Linked DNA regions of Homo sapiens: all the other regions are linked to region 2. The links are contacts of gene promoters, found by promoter capture Hi-C in blood cells and fetal thymus (Javierre and others, 2016). All regions are on one chromosome and are shown on one strand. Each heading gives the region's core, a stretch centred on a gene start or on the middle of the fragment in contact. The rest is flanking DNA. Distances are from core to core; before and after follow the strand shown.

Region 1 (3,305 bases), core at 156-2,655, 770 kb before region 2:
CAATTAGTAGCAGTGTAACTTCATAGTTAATCATAAAATTAATAAGCTTTATTTGCTTCTCCTGCTAGAAAGCTACATGTAAGCAAAGACTATTGGTTCTGTTCATCGTATAGTCCTATACCTGCTTGGATCCTGCATATATTAGACACTTAAAACATATTTGGTGAATTGAAGAATGAATGAATGTGAGTGAGCTATTCAAACACAAGGACTGGATCTTATTTCTCTCCATTCCCAATATTTAATTGTCTTCTTGGTAGAGGGACTGAGAATCCTAATACTTTCAAAGGCTAGGCAGATGACATAAATGTGTGAAGCAACCCTGCCCCTTGTAAACCTGTCAAGAGTGATGAGCTTGCAACAACCAGAAAGGCATGTATTGCTTAAAATCATGCACACTAAAAACACTTTTCTTGGTGAAAAAAAAAAAATGTCTGCAAGCTAGATTTTCAACTGGTCCACCAGTTTTATTGCTATTTCTAGGTTTTTAGTAAATATTGGTTAAAAATTAAATATTTTTGTTAATTCTTCTCTGTAGTCTTTGCTCAAAGTATTATTTCTCCATGTAACATTTTACTTTCAAAAACTCATTTATTCCTCTTTGTCATCTGTCTTGGCATATGCCTATTCTATATAGCACTACTGAAATCTATCTAAAATGCTGTCATCCCTATCAAAATATTCTTTCTCCAGGAAAGCACCAAAAAGTAGAGGTTTCAATAATGAGCTCTAGTGCCAGCTGTTCACCTGCTATGCACTAGCTATGGGAGATCTGGACAAGTATCCAATCTGTATTTCACTTTGCCCACCTGAAAATAGGGATACTTTTAGATCTCATAGGGATACTTTATGTATCTCATAATATCATTATGAGATGCATAATGCACAGTGTGTGGAACAAACTAAGTGCAATAGAAGTATTTGTTAAATAAACTTTTTAGAAAATAAAATGAATTAGATGTAATCTTGCCTCCTTTTTTTATATATATGACTTCTGTGAAATTGTTGACTATGGATTGTTCAGTACATATTATTCACATTGCTGTAAAAGTGCAGTAAATTAAAAAATTCAACTGGGGTAAAAGGATACTGAATCCAGATGAAAATCTGGCGGTGGGGGGCGGGGGTGGTGTCAGGAGAAAACATTCTGCTTTATTTTTCTCTTTAGCACTTATGACATAATACATATTTATTTATTTGCTTATCGACCTCACTCCACTAGGATATGTTCAATGAAAGCAGGTAAATTGTTTTGTTCACTGTTATACCTCCAGTGCCTTGCATATATTGAGTGCTTAGTAAGTAGTTCTTGACTGAATGAATGAATAATACATTTGAAAGGCAGTCATATTCTTAGTTGAATTTTAATGAATATTGGATAGCTTGGAGTTTGAGGTTTTCTTCTTTGGACAATATCTAAAATGGAGTTGTGATATCACTCCATTTCTCTTTTCTTTATGATATAAAGTAATTAATTTTTCCTGCTCTGAGGGCCTAGAAGATGCTGCCATGTATATATTTTTTATTTTATTTTATTTTATTTTATTTTTTAAAATTTAACTTCTATTTTAAGTGCAAGGGTACATGTTCAAGTTTGTTAAATAGGTAAACTTGTGTCATAGGGGTTTGTTTTACATATTATTTGGTTACACAGGTATTAAGCCTGGCACCCATTAATTACTTTTCCTGACCTTCTTCTTCCCTCTTTCCCTTCACCCTCTGACAGGCCCCAGTGTGTGTTGTTCTCTTCTTTGTGTCCATGTGTTCTCATCACTTAGCTCCCACTTATAAGTGAGAACATGTGGTATTTGGTTTTCCATTCCTGAGTTAGTTTGCTAAGGATAATGGTCTCCAGCTCCATTCTTTTGCTTAGGATTGCCTTGGCTGTTAAGGCTCTTTCTGGGTCCATATGAATTTTAAAATAGCTTTTCTAGTTCTGTGAAGAATGTCAGTGGTAGTTTAATAGGAATAGCATAGAATCTATAAATTGCTTTGGGCAGTATGGCCATTTTCACGACGTTGTTTCTTCCTATCCATGAGCATGGAATGTTTTTCCATTTGTTTGTGTCATCTCTGATTTCTTTGAGCAATGTTTTGGGGTTCTTCTTCAGAGATTTTTCACCTCCTTGATTAGCTATATTCTTAGGTATTTTGTGCATGTGTGCATGTGTGTGTGTGTGTGTGTCTGGCAATTGTGAATGGGATTGTATTCCTGATTTGGCTCTCGGCTTGACTGTTGTTGGTGTATAGGAATGTTAGTGATTTTTATTGTGATACATTGATTTTGTATCCTGAGACTTTGCTGAAGTTGTTTATCAGCTTAAGGAGCTTTTGGGCCAAGACTATGGGGTTTTCTAGATAGAGAATCATGTCATCTGCAAACATGGGTAGTTTGACTTCCTCTCTGCATATTTGGATGACCTTTATTTTTTTCTTTTGCCTGATTGCCCTGGGCAGGACTTACAATACTAGATTGAATAGGAGTGGTGAGAAAGGGCATCATCATCTTGTGCCATTTTTCAAAGGGAATGCTTCCAGCTTTCGCCCACTCAGTATGATTTTGGCTGTGTGTTTGTCATAGAGAGTTTTTAACATGAAGGGGTCTTGAATTTTATAGAAAGCCTTCTCTAGATTTATTGAGATAATCGTGTGGTTTTTGTCTTTAGTTCTGTTTATCTGATTAATCACATTTATTGATTTGCCTATGTTAAACCAACCTTGCATCTCAGAGATAAAGCCTACTTGATTGTGGTTGATAAGCTTTTTGATGTGCTGCTGGATTTGGTTTGCTAGTATTTTGTTGAGGATTTTTGCATCGATGTTCATCAAGGATATTGGCTTAAAGTTTCCTTTTTTGTTATGTCCCTGCCAGGTTTTGGTATTAGAATGATGCTGGTCTCATAGAATGAGTTAGGGAGGAGTCTCTCCTTTTCAATTGTTTGGAATAGTTTCAGCAGGAATGGTACTAGCTCTTCTTTGTACCTCTGGTAGAATTCAGCTGTGAATTTGTCCGGTCTTGGGCACTTTTTGGTTGGTAGGCTATTCCTTTCTGAGTCCATTTCAGAGCTGGTTATTGGTCTGTTTAGGGATTATATTTCTTCCTGGCTCAGACTTGGGAGGTTATGTGTGTCCAGGATTTTATCCATTTCTCCTAGATTTTCTAGGTCATGTGCAGAGAGATGTTCATAATATTATCTGATGTTTGTTTTTATTTCTCTGGGGTCAGTGGCAGTATCCCCTTTGTCATTTTGGATTGCATTTGTTTGGATCATCTCTCTTTTCTTCTTTATTGTCTAGCTGGTAGT
Region 2 (3,331 bases), core at 534-3,033:
GAGCTGCTGCGGTTTTGAGAGCTCCGGGCAGAGCTAAACCTCAGGGGATGGAAGTCAAAATAAGTACTTACTTTCGGAGGGGAAGAAGGGCGGCATGTCTATTTTGTAAACCTCCTTGGCGTAGTACTCTTCGTCGCTCCTCTCGCGCTCGCAGGCGGCCGCCCTCCGGCTCGCCTTCTCCTGGAGCAAGTCCCTGGTGCTGTTGTAGATGGAAATCACCTCCGGGGGGACTTCCTCGGGCTCAGGATAGTCTTCTGGGGGACTGGTGAGCTTCAGCTTGCTCAGGATCTGCCCGCGGATCGCCTCGATCCTCTTGCGCATGAACTGGTCCATATCGAGTGTGCTGCAGGTAGACAGGCTGAGCGCGACCGTGACCAGATGCAGGATCAGAAAAGCGCTCAGCACACAGTAGTGCATTTTTTAAAAAAGTGGAAAAAAAAGTTGTTTTTAAAAGTCAGAATAAAAAAAAGAAATCAACAATTCTCAAAGTATAGATCAAGGAGAGTTGTTTGGTTTTTTGTTGTTGTTGTTTTTGATGCGAAACTTTTGCAAACAATCTAGTCAATGCCCAACAGAAAAACGTATCCTGCTTGAATTCCTTTAAAAAGAAAAGGCCAGTAGTTCCAAAAGTGGAAATATTAATACGGGACGGGCAGAGGGAACCCTGACTTTGGCGAGTAAGAAGAAAAAAATTCTTGGAGCAATGAGATGGGGAAAAAAAGAGACGAGTGGCTATTAAGTAGAAATAAATTTAAGAGGAGGAAGTGGAGTTCAGTGTGTCAGTCTCGGGTGCGGAGTGGCGGATCTGAACTCGGCTCCTCCGGCCAAAAGGGAAGAGATGAAAAGGTCCCGGGGCTGGCAGCTGGCGAACTGACGGGAGGGGCGCCGGGAGCGCGGTGAGGGGGGCCGCCGAGGCTGACCTGGGCTGAAATTTATATATTTAAAGAAGGAGCGGTTCGGTCCTGCCTTCCACTGCGGCGCTGAGAGCAGGAGCAGCAGCAGCTCCGGAGCAGAGAAGCGCACACGTGTGTGCGTGCGTGTGTGTGTGTGTGTGTGTGTGTGCGTGTGCGCGCGCTGGGGGCGAGCCCAGCGCACCGCGGGGAGGAGGGTGCGCTTCGCAGGGCGCTCGGTACTCGGTCGGGTGCCGCAGGGGCCGCAGAGGCTGCTGAGGCGGCGCGGATCCTGCTCTGGGAGCTGCGCTCCGTGGCCTACACCCTGGCGGGCGCGCGCTGACCCGCTTGGTTACTCCACGTTGCTGCCGCCGCCGCTTGCAAACGCTTCCAGCCTCCAGCTCCCTCCTTCTCCTGCTCCTCCTTCTCTTGCTCCAAACGCCAACCCAGCCACAGACGATCAGCCGTCGCGGTTGCGTTCACCCCCTGCGGATCACAACGGCAGCCCTTGCGACACCCTGGCTGGGGAGTTTTATTCCTGAGGGGGTTGCGCAGGGGCTCCCTTGGACTCCCACCCTTTCCCAACCTCTGCTGGCTTCTCCCCAACGTGGAATTGCTCGCTTAGGGTAGGTAGGCACTTGCCACCCTAAAATAGATCCTCTCTGTCTCCTCCTGTCTGCAGCCGGGCAGCCCCTCAGTTTGTTCCTGGATGACTCCCTAGACCGTCAGGCTAATATTCTCCATCCCCCTCCCCTGCCTCTTTCACTTGCGCTCTCGCTCTGCTGTCTCTTTCTCTCTTTCTCTTTCTATCTCTATCTCAATCTGTCTTTCTCTTGTCAGGAGCTTCTGGAGCTCCGCTCGGAGCGAACCTTCTGCTGCCAGCAGATAACATCACGATCTTGCCGGGGAGGGGAGATTTATAAGTTCTCTCTGAACCACGTGTCTGCCTTCAACAAAGTGACGTGCTAGGATTACAGTCAGAAGTCCTCTCGTTACTTAGACCACGAGCTCTCCCCGAACCGTTGAGGGAGTGTGGAAATGAGGACCGCTGTGGGTAAGGGAGGAAGGAGGTGGAATGTGCGCCCTGACAACAGTGATTTACGGTATTTACTTTCCAGTCATTTTGGACAGGTCTGTTGAAGGAAGGACAATCAAGTCTCCCGTTTTTACTTAGTGTAGCTCAGTCACAGCCTCCCAAGCTGAATCACTTGCTCTAGAAGGGAAGGCTTCCCTCCTGTATTATGTGTGCACACGCACCCCTATGGGAGGGAGCACTAGTCTACTCAGGGCCAGGCCAGTACTGAAGACATACCTTCCAATCTTTTAAATTCATGTCCTACCTCTTATTTTCTGGGATACCTTAGCAGGTTGCCATCCCAGAATTTATTTTGTTAGTTTGTTGTTTACAATGTACCCCTCTGTTTGTGAACTGCTGGAAAACAGAGATCCATCAATTTTACCTAAAGAATAAGGTATACTTGTTTGTTTTACTGATTTGAATGAATGGTCACCTTTATAATTTGCTGCCTAAGCCACTTCTTGTATGGCTTTCTTCTTCACCTTCTTGCTAGGCTAAACATTATCAACCAACTTCATTCTTTCCATAGCATTAATCCAGGAAGCTGGAATTTTAAGTGTTTGATGTCTACTGTTCTACACTACTCATAACTTGACATTTTCAATTTCAACTAAGTCTAAATTAGATGAATACAAGAATAACTCTTACCACTGTTCCACCTTCCCTTTTTCTTTTATTTTACCTTTAGTTACTCAAAGTCAACATTTTCATTTCGGCATGACTCTGCAGCCATACTGACCAGACAGATGATTTAAACTGGAAACTCTGTTGAATGTACTCCCAAACCCAAGATCTCTATACTGTTCTCTACTTCAGATGTTCCTGAGTTCAGAAAAGTCACAAAGAACTTTCTATCACTTTTGGAATTTATACTTCAGTTGTGTATGGGGCCTAGGTTATTAGTAGAGCACTGAATAAATAAAATAATAATAGCTAACATATACTACACTTAGTAATTTGATGTGTGTTGTGTATGGTCATTTAATCTTCACTATGAACCTATAAAGTGGGTCTTATTATCCATATCTGGCAGATGAGGAGACTGAGGTACAAAGAAGTTAAGTACTTTGTTCGAGACCACAGTAAGTGGTAGAGCTGGATTTTTGCAGTCAGGATCCACTATGTTCTTACCTACTATGTACTTCTGAGAAACAATGGTCCCAGAATATGTTCTGACAAACAGGAATTCTGGAGTCAAACAAGTTTGGGAGATACTGGGTACTCTCCTGTCCTCTTAGATTCCTCATTCTGGAACATTATCATGTTAAAGGCTCTGAAACTCCTGTAGAAGAGAAAACCTTTTCACTCTTTTAACCCAGCATTTTCCAAACTCCCTTGAATACAGAATTTTTTCCATTATCAC
Region 3 (2,995 bases), core at 265-2,764, 690 kb before region 2:
GGTCAAGTACCCTCTCACAACACAAGCTAACGCTGGATTTGAAAGCCATAAGATCAAACAGCTCAATGAAAAAAGGACAGAATTTGACCTAAGAGAAACTTGCAATCCCCAGGCTCTGTGAAGACCGAGAACCTTAAAAGGGGTCAGCAGTGTCTCTCTTGTGTTCCTCAAGGGACATGTCACTGGGGTCCCTTCATGGTTGCCAGAACTATAAAAGATAAAATTACAACAAATTTAGTTTCAAGATCTTAATTGGCTTTTGTAATTCTAGAGTTAGAAACACCTTATTCTATAAAATAGAATGAGTGTTACAATGGGCTTAGTAGAGGAGATTGGTTTTGTAGAGAGAAATGGGTTGATGAAAGCAGAAACAGAGAACAAAAAGTGGATTGGTTGTTTCAAAGTTACTTTTCTTGCAGAGATTAAAAGCAGGGAGGGCTTTCTTATCATACCAGTTAAAACTGGTCGGTTTGGGGTTTTGGCTATTATCTCTCATGCTTCTGGTTTCTCAGAACGTCAGATGTGAAGTCAGTTTTGGCTTGGGGTGTGGAACTTTAGCATGAGTGCCTCCATTTTGGTTTGGTCTGTTGGGACTAAGTGCAGGAACTTAGTCCAAACCAGTGGCTTCCTATGCATTTTATTTAACAAGAGTTATGAGCATATTTGTTGACAACTTACTCCATAGCAATAGACAAGATGTAGAGAGAGAAGAAAAGTGAGCCAAATGGTATACAAAGCATACACCAGTCTCCAAGTCTTTTCAGATGCTTTCTCTTTGCCTGAGTGGCCTTCCTTCAGATAGCTCTTTTTTGTACCCTCACTTCCTTAAGTTTTAATTACCTGCCAATCTTACTAATACTATGCCCCTTCCCAGGACTTTCATCCCTCTGCTTTAGTTCTCCACATAGCACTTAGAGCTAATATATTGAATATTTAAATTATTTGTATTGCTTATCTGCTTACTCCCAATACGAGTTGTGTTTCATGAGAGCAGGATTTGGGGTTTTCTTCCTTTGTTTATTGCTTTGAATTCGGTGCATGTAACAGTGCCAGGCACACAAAATGTGCTCAATGTACATGTACTATGTGGATGAAAAGTCCGGAAAATACCAAATAATGCAGGATCATTCAGAGTAAACAAAGGTCAAAGCAAAAATTGATAAGATGTAACTGCAACTGGAGCATCAAGAGATGAAGTATTTCTAGATGGAGTATTGAGAAAAACCAATGCCACAGAGGATTAACAAAGAAAGAGCTTCAAGGAGAGAACAGCGACCAAAACTACTAGAACATAATAGAGATACTAAGCTTTCTTCAGATGAGAAGATAAGTTCAGATAAGAACTGAAATTTCAACTGGGTAAAAACAATATCGAATTTGAATTTGAATGGATAAAAGTCCCTAGGCATCATGCATTCAGACTTAATGCATGTAAAAATTTCTGTGGAAACCTGTTTCCCACAATGGAAGCAGGAAGTAAAGAAAACCTACAAGAGCATCTGTTCTCATGAGATTTTCAGGCTTGAATCACAAATTAAAGGAAGTTTGGATAGTTCGAGTAAAGTTCAGATGACAAAGTTCAGGTACTTATCTGAATTTTGATGGGAGTTACTAAAACCAAAATATACGATATACTACAGTTTATCTCCTAAAGATAAAAATTTATTTGAGAGCACTGACCATAATGGTAGTCACATCGAACGTGTAGTTACAAAGCTTTCATATATGCTCTACATACTATAGTTGAAATGGAGAAAACACATAGGATTTTTTCTATTGTTATAGTTATTAGAGGCAAAATTAAACAAATCACATTAATCTGTTTGCCTGATATTTAACAAGCCAACCTGTTTGTATACTTTTTAGTTTTAAAGTAACATTTCATTAGCTGTAATATAAGTGAAATTTGAAAGTAAGATCAAAGGCATTAAGACAAATGACACTGAGAATAACTTTAAACCTTTTACAGATGCACATCAATAGAGTTTTTATTATAATACAAAACAATAGCTTTTTAGGTACTAAAAAAACATTTTTTTTACTACACAAAAAACAAGCCCAATGATATAGAGTATAAATTATATGTTAGATTGCATTTCAGTTTTGATGCAGAAGAACAAAATATTCCTTTCTGTTTATATCATTTTTTGCTAAAATTGATCTATATTTCAAAGCAATCAACAGATAATGCACACTCTGGGAAGCAACCCAATGGGAAGAGGACTTAAATCCGTGGTATAAACCAGAATTGGGTAAATTTAACTGAATTTTGGTTTGGCTAACACTTTAAGCCATTTCAAAATTTCTATATTCAGCAAAATCTGAAATGCATATTGTACAGCCCAGTTCTCTCCTTTCTTTTAAACTTATGTGCAGTTAATAGGACATAGAATCCATAAATCCTTATGCTTTTATAGCTAACTCATTGTCATGCCTCATGAAATCTATGCAATCTTCAGAATGCCGAGAGATCCAAACTTTCTCAAAAAGTGACTCTCATAAGGAATACCCCAAACTGAAACCTTAAGCTCTAAATATATGAAATGTTCAAACCTAAATTGATTACTAGGGCATTATGCTCTAAGTAACACTCTTCTATCTTGAATTGAAATATGATACCTAAAGAAGGGACCTCTGGCAGAAACACCAACCTAAAAAAGATGTCTTTCAAAACAGTGCTACACTATTTTTTTTCAGTAGTCTCTAGGCAGCTTTTTTGAGATGGAGTCCCACTCTGTTGCCCAGGCTGGAGTGCAGTGGTACAATCTCAGCTCACTGCAACCTCCAACTCCTGGGTTCAAGTGATTCTCTTGCCTCAGCCTCCCAAATAGCTGGGATTACAGGTGCCTGCCACGATTGCCAGCTAATTTTTTTTTTTTTTTTTTTTGGTAGAGACGGGGTTTCGCCATGTTGGCCAGGCTGGTCTCGAACTCCTGACCTCAGGTGATCTGCCAGCCTCGGCCTCCCAAAGTGCTGGGATTACAGGCATGAGTCA
Region 4 (3,308 bases), core at 432-2,931, 600 kb before region 2:
TTAAAGAAACTTTACACAAATGTTTCACCTAAGGTGTTTTGAACAAGGTTCATCTAGATACACAGAGTATAGAAGTTATAATGTTGATAATTGAAAATATGGACCTGGATCTCAGAAGAGAGGTCAGGGTCAGAATGAGAGTTGGGGAACTATTTATGTAGACATAGCAGCTGAGAGTAAGTGTGATGTCGAGGGAAGAGCTGATATGGAAAGAAAAATAAATGATGGCCTTTGGGAAATTCATGTGCCTAGGGTCTGAAAACAGCAAAGAGTTAGAGAAAATGTCAAAGAAGAGGACAAACAATAAGAATGAATAGTGTAGTTTAGTAAGGCAAGAGAGAAAAGATTTCACATTCTACAGCAACAGCTCCAATCTGATAAATATTTTCTGCACTGGAGCCCTGAATGATCTTGAACTATGGAAGGTTTTATTATGCTCATTTTTTCTGTGTTTGCTGGCAAAGCACAGTGTCAGGCTACACCTTCAGATAATGTTTTCACAGTAAGCGCTAAGGCGCTTTTTCTGGTAAAGCTTTAGTGTAAAACTCACTTAGAAAGCAATCCAGATGCCAGATCCCATTTCTGGTGACCTTCATAATAGCTTAGAAATGGCATCCACCCTAAAGATTCCGTGCAAGGGATCTAAAATAGAAACTCAGAAAGTCAGCAACCCACAGCAAGCCTCCACCCTTTTCTCATCTTCCTTTGTTTTCATTTGGTCGTTACTGGGAGCCCCTGTTCTAAGGAGGGTTCCCTTCCTTCCTGCCAACCCCTGAACTCCGGCATCCTGCCCAGTGCTGAATAATAATCCAGAATTCTTTCCCCAGAGAGACAAAATTGGGAGGCGATAAATCATGGACTGCTCTTTGGTATCCTGGCTCATCATTCGTAAATAAAGCCAACAATAGATACAAATGGAGTCATTTGTGTAGAAGCAGTTCTGATGCACTGGAATTCTCCAGAGTTTTCTGCTTAAATAAAATCTTCGGGGTATCTGCTTTTTGATGAAGATCACTATCTGTCTAAATTTAAAAAAAAATATGAGTAAAAGGAAATTACATTTTGGATTCAGAAAAAAAAGTATTTTCCAAATAATAAATAACTTCCAACCCAATTTTTAGCTGTTTGGGTCTTAAATAAGTTAGACCTCAGTTTATTTTCAAGCATCTAAGAACACTGTAGCACATTCTTTACTGTTTAAAGTGAAATGGATTGTTAATAATGTGACTTGATTATTCTCTCACTGGAAATTTCTATGTTTTCACCACCCCACACCCAGCTCTTGCAGAAAGAAGCATGATTCTAAAATGAGAAGATGCTGGGAGAGGAGAGTGGTCAAATACGGAAAATGGACAACCTTAGGGCACAGAAGAATAATTGTATCTTTGTTACTTTCCCATTTCCTTTTTTGGACCATATGGAAACCTCTGCTTCCAACACAGCATCCTAGAGGCATGCTTCCTTTGGTGGCTTAAAGTGTCACATAGAAATATTCAGTCCCCAAACTGCCTTCTGTAGGCAATACACAATCAATCAAATGAAATTCATAGATCTCCTTTCCCTTTGTCTTCAGTCTCTGCCTCACTTCTACTGCTAAGTTATTTAATTAAATTCACTTATACCCCCTCTTCAAAGCATATTACCAATGGCTCATGGAGAAATATCAAATCAATATTAGAACGCATATGATGTATTAGTCTGTTTTCATGCTGCTGATAAAGACATACCCGAGACTGGGCATTACAAAGAGGTTTATAATGGACTTACCGTTCCACATGGCTGCGTAAGGCTCACAATCATGGTGGAAGGCAAGGAGGAATAAGTCACATCTTACATGGATGGCAGCAGGCAAAGAGAGAGTTTGTGTAGGGAAACTCCCCCTTTTAAAACCGTCAGACCTCATGAGACTCATTCACTGTCACAAGAATAGTGCAGAAAATACCTGTCCTCATAATTCAGTCAACTCCCACAGGGCTCCTCCCACAAGATGTGGGAATTGTGGGAGTTACAATTAAAGATGAGATTTGGGTGGGGACACAGAGCCAAACCATGTCATTCCACCCCGTCCCCTCCCAAATCTCATGTCATCACATTTTAAAACCAATCATGCCTTCCCAACAGTCCCCCAAAGTCTTAACTTTTTTCAGCATTAACTCAAAATCCACAGTCCAACGTGTTATCTGAGACAAGGCAAGTACCTAATGCCCATGAGCCCATAAAATCAAAAACAAGTTAGTTACTTCCTAGATACAATGGGGTACAGGCATTGGGTAAATACAGCCATTCTAAATGGGGACATTGGCCAAAACAAAAAGGCTTCAGGCCCCATGCAAGTCCAAAATCCAGCAGAGCAGTCAAACCTTAAAGCTCCAAAATGATCTCCTTTGTCTCCATGTCTCACATCCAGGTTATGCTGATGCAAGTGGTGAGTTCCCATGGTCTTGGGCAGCTCCTCCCCTGTGGCTTTGCAGGGTACAGCCTCCCTCCTGGCTGCTTTCACAGGCTCTTGTTGAGTGTCTGCAGCTTTTCCAGGTGCACAGTGTAAGCTGTCAGTGGATCTACAATTCTGGGGTCTGGAGGATGGTGGCCTACTTCTCACAGCTCCACTAAACAATGCCCCAGTAGGGACTCTGTGTGGTGGCTCTGACCCCATATTTACCTCCCATACTGCCCTAGCAGAGGTTCTCCAGGAGAACCTTGCCCTTTAGCAAACTTCTGCCTGGAGTTCCAGGCATTTCCATACATCCTGTGAAATCTAGGCAGAGGTTCCTAAACCACTGACTTCTGTGCACTGGCAGGCTCAAGATCACATGGAAGATGCCAAAGCTTGAGGCTTGCACCCTCAGAAACCATGCCCCAAGCTCTACATTGAAGTCCCTAGGCTTCACACCGCACAGGGACCCTGGATCTGGCCCACAAAATCATTTTTCCCCCTAGGTCTCTGGGCCTGTGATGGAAGGGGCTGCTGTGAAGACCTCTGACATGCCCTGAGACATTTTCCCCTTTGTCTTGAGGATTAACATTCAGCTCCACGTTATTTATGCAAATTTCTGCAGCCAACTTGAATTTCTCCTCAGAAAATGGAATCTTCTTTTCTATCGCATTGTCAGGCTGAAAATTTTCCAAACGTTTATGCTCTGTTTCCCTTTTGAAACTGAATGCCTTTAACAGCACCCAAGTCACCTCTTGAATGCTTTGCTGCTTAGAAATTTCTTCCACCAGATACCGTAAATCATGTCTCTCAAGTTTAAATTTCCACAAATCTCTAGGGAAGGGGCAAAATGCCACCAGTCTCTTTGCTAAAGCAT

What was found. Contacts are between HindIII fragments. The CHiCAGO score rates a contact against its expected background, and 5 or more counts as called.
Region 1: a contact is called between a fragment that was not itself captured here and the fragment with the promoter of TGFB2 in region 2, in 1 of 17 cell types (megakaryocytes). The highest score is 5.3, in megakaryocytes.
Region 3: a fragment that was not itself captured here is called in contact with the fragment with the promoter of TGFB2 in region 2 in 1 of 17 cell types (endothelial precursors); the score reaches 5.5 in endothelial precursors.
Region 4: a contact is called between a fragment that was not itself captured here and the fragment with the promoter of TGFB2 in region 2, in 1 of 17 cell types (endothelial precursors). The highest score is 5.3, in endothelial precursors.

What each region holds. Positions count from the first base shown.
Region 1 is chr1:219,117,074-219,120,378 of GRCh38, reverse strand. All of the region lies in intron 3 of LYPLAL1-DT (LYPLAL1 divergent transcript), which reads left to right. Among named protein-coding and RNA genes, the nearest start is that of LYPLAL1-DT, 55 kb to the left of the region's middle. The HindIII fragment of the contact is 2,714 bases long and covers 49-2,762 here.
Region 2 is chr1:218,343,788-218,347,118 of GRCh38, reverse strand. It overlaps TGFB2 (transforming growth factor beta 2), which reads right to left and starts at 1,783. Exons shown (of 7, transcript NM_003238.6): 1 at 72-1,783. The coding sequence starts at 417. It overlaps TGFB2-AS1 (TGFB2 antisense RNA 1), which reads left to right and starts at 1,441. Exons shown (of 3, transcript NR_046268.1): 1 at 1,441-1,516; 2 at 1,731-1,944; 3 at 2,657-2,923. RefSeq lists enhancers at 1-234, 1,366-1,415 and a silencer at 1,796-1,855. The HindIII fragment of the contact is 5,586 bases long and covers 1-3,331 here.
Region 3 is chr1:219,036,199-219,039,193 of GRCh38, reverse strand. No RefSeq gene overlaps it. Among named protein-coding and RNA genes, the nearest start is that of LINC01710, 120 kb to the right of the region's middle. The HindIII fragment of the contact is 408 bases long and covers 1,311-1,718 here.
Region 4 is chr1:218,940,046-218,943,353 of GRCh38, reverse strand. No RefSeq gene overlaps it. Among named protein-coding and RNA genes, the nearest start is that of LINC01710, 23 kb to the right of the region's middle. The HindIII fragment of the contact is 2,294 bases long and covers 535-2,828 here.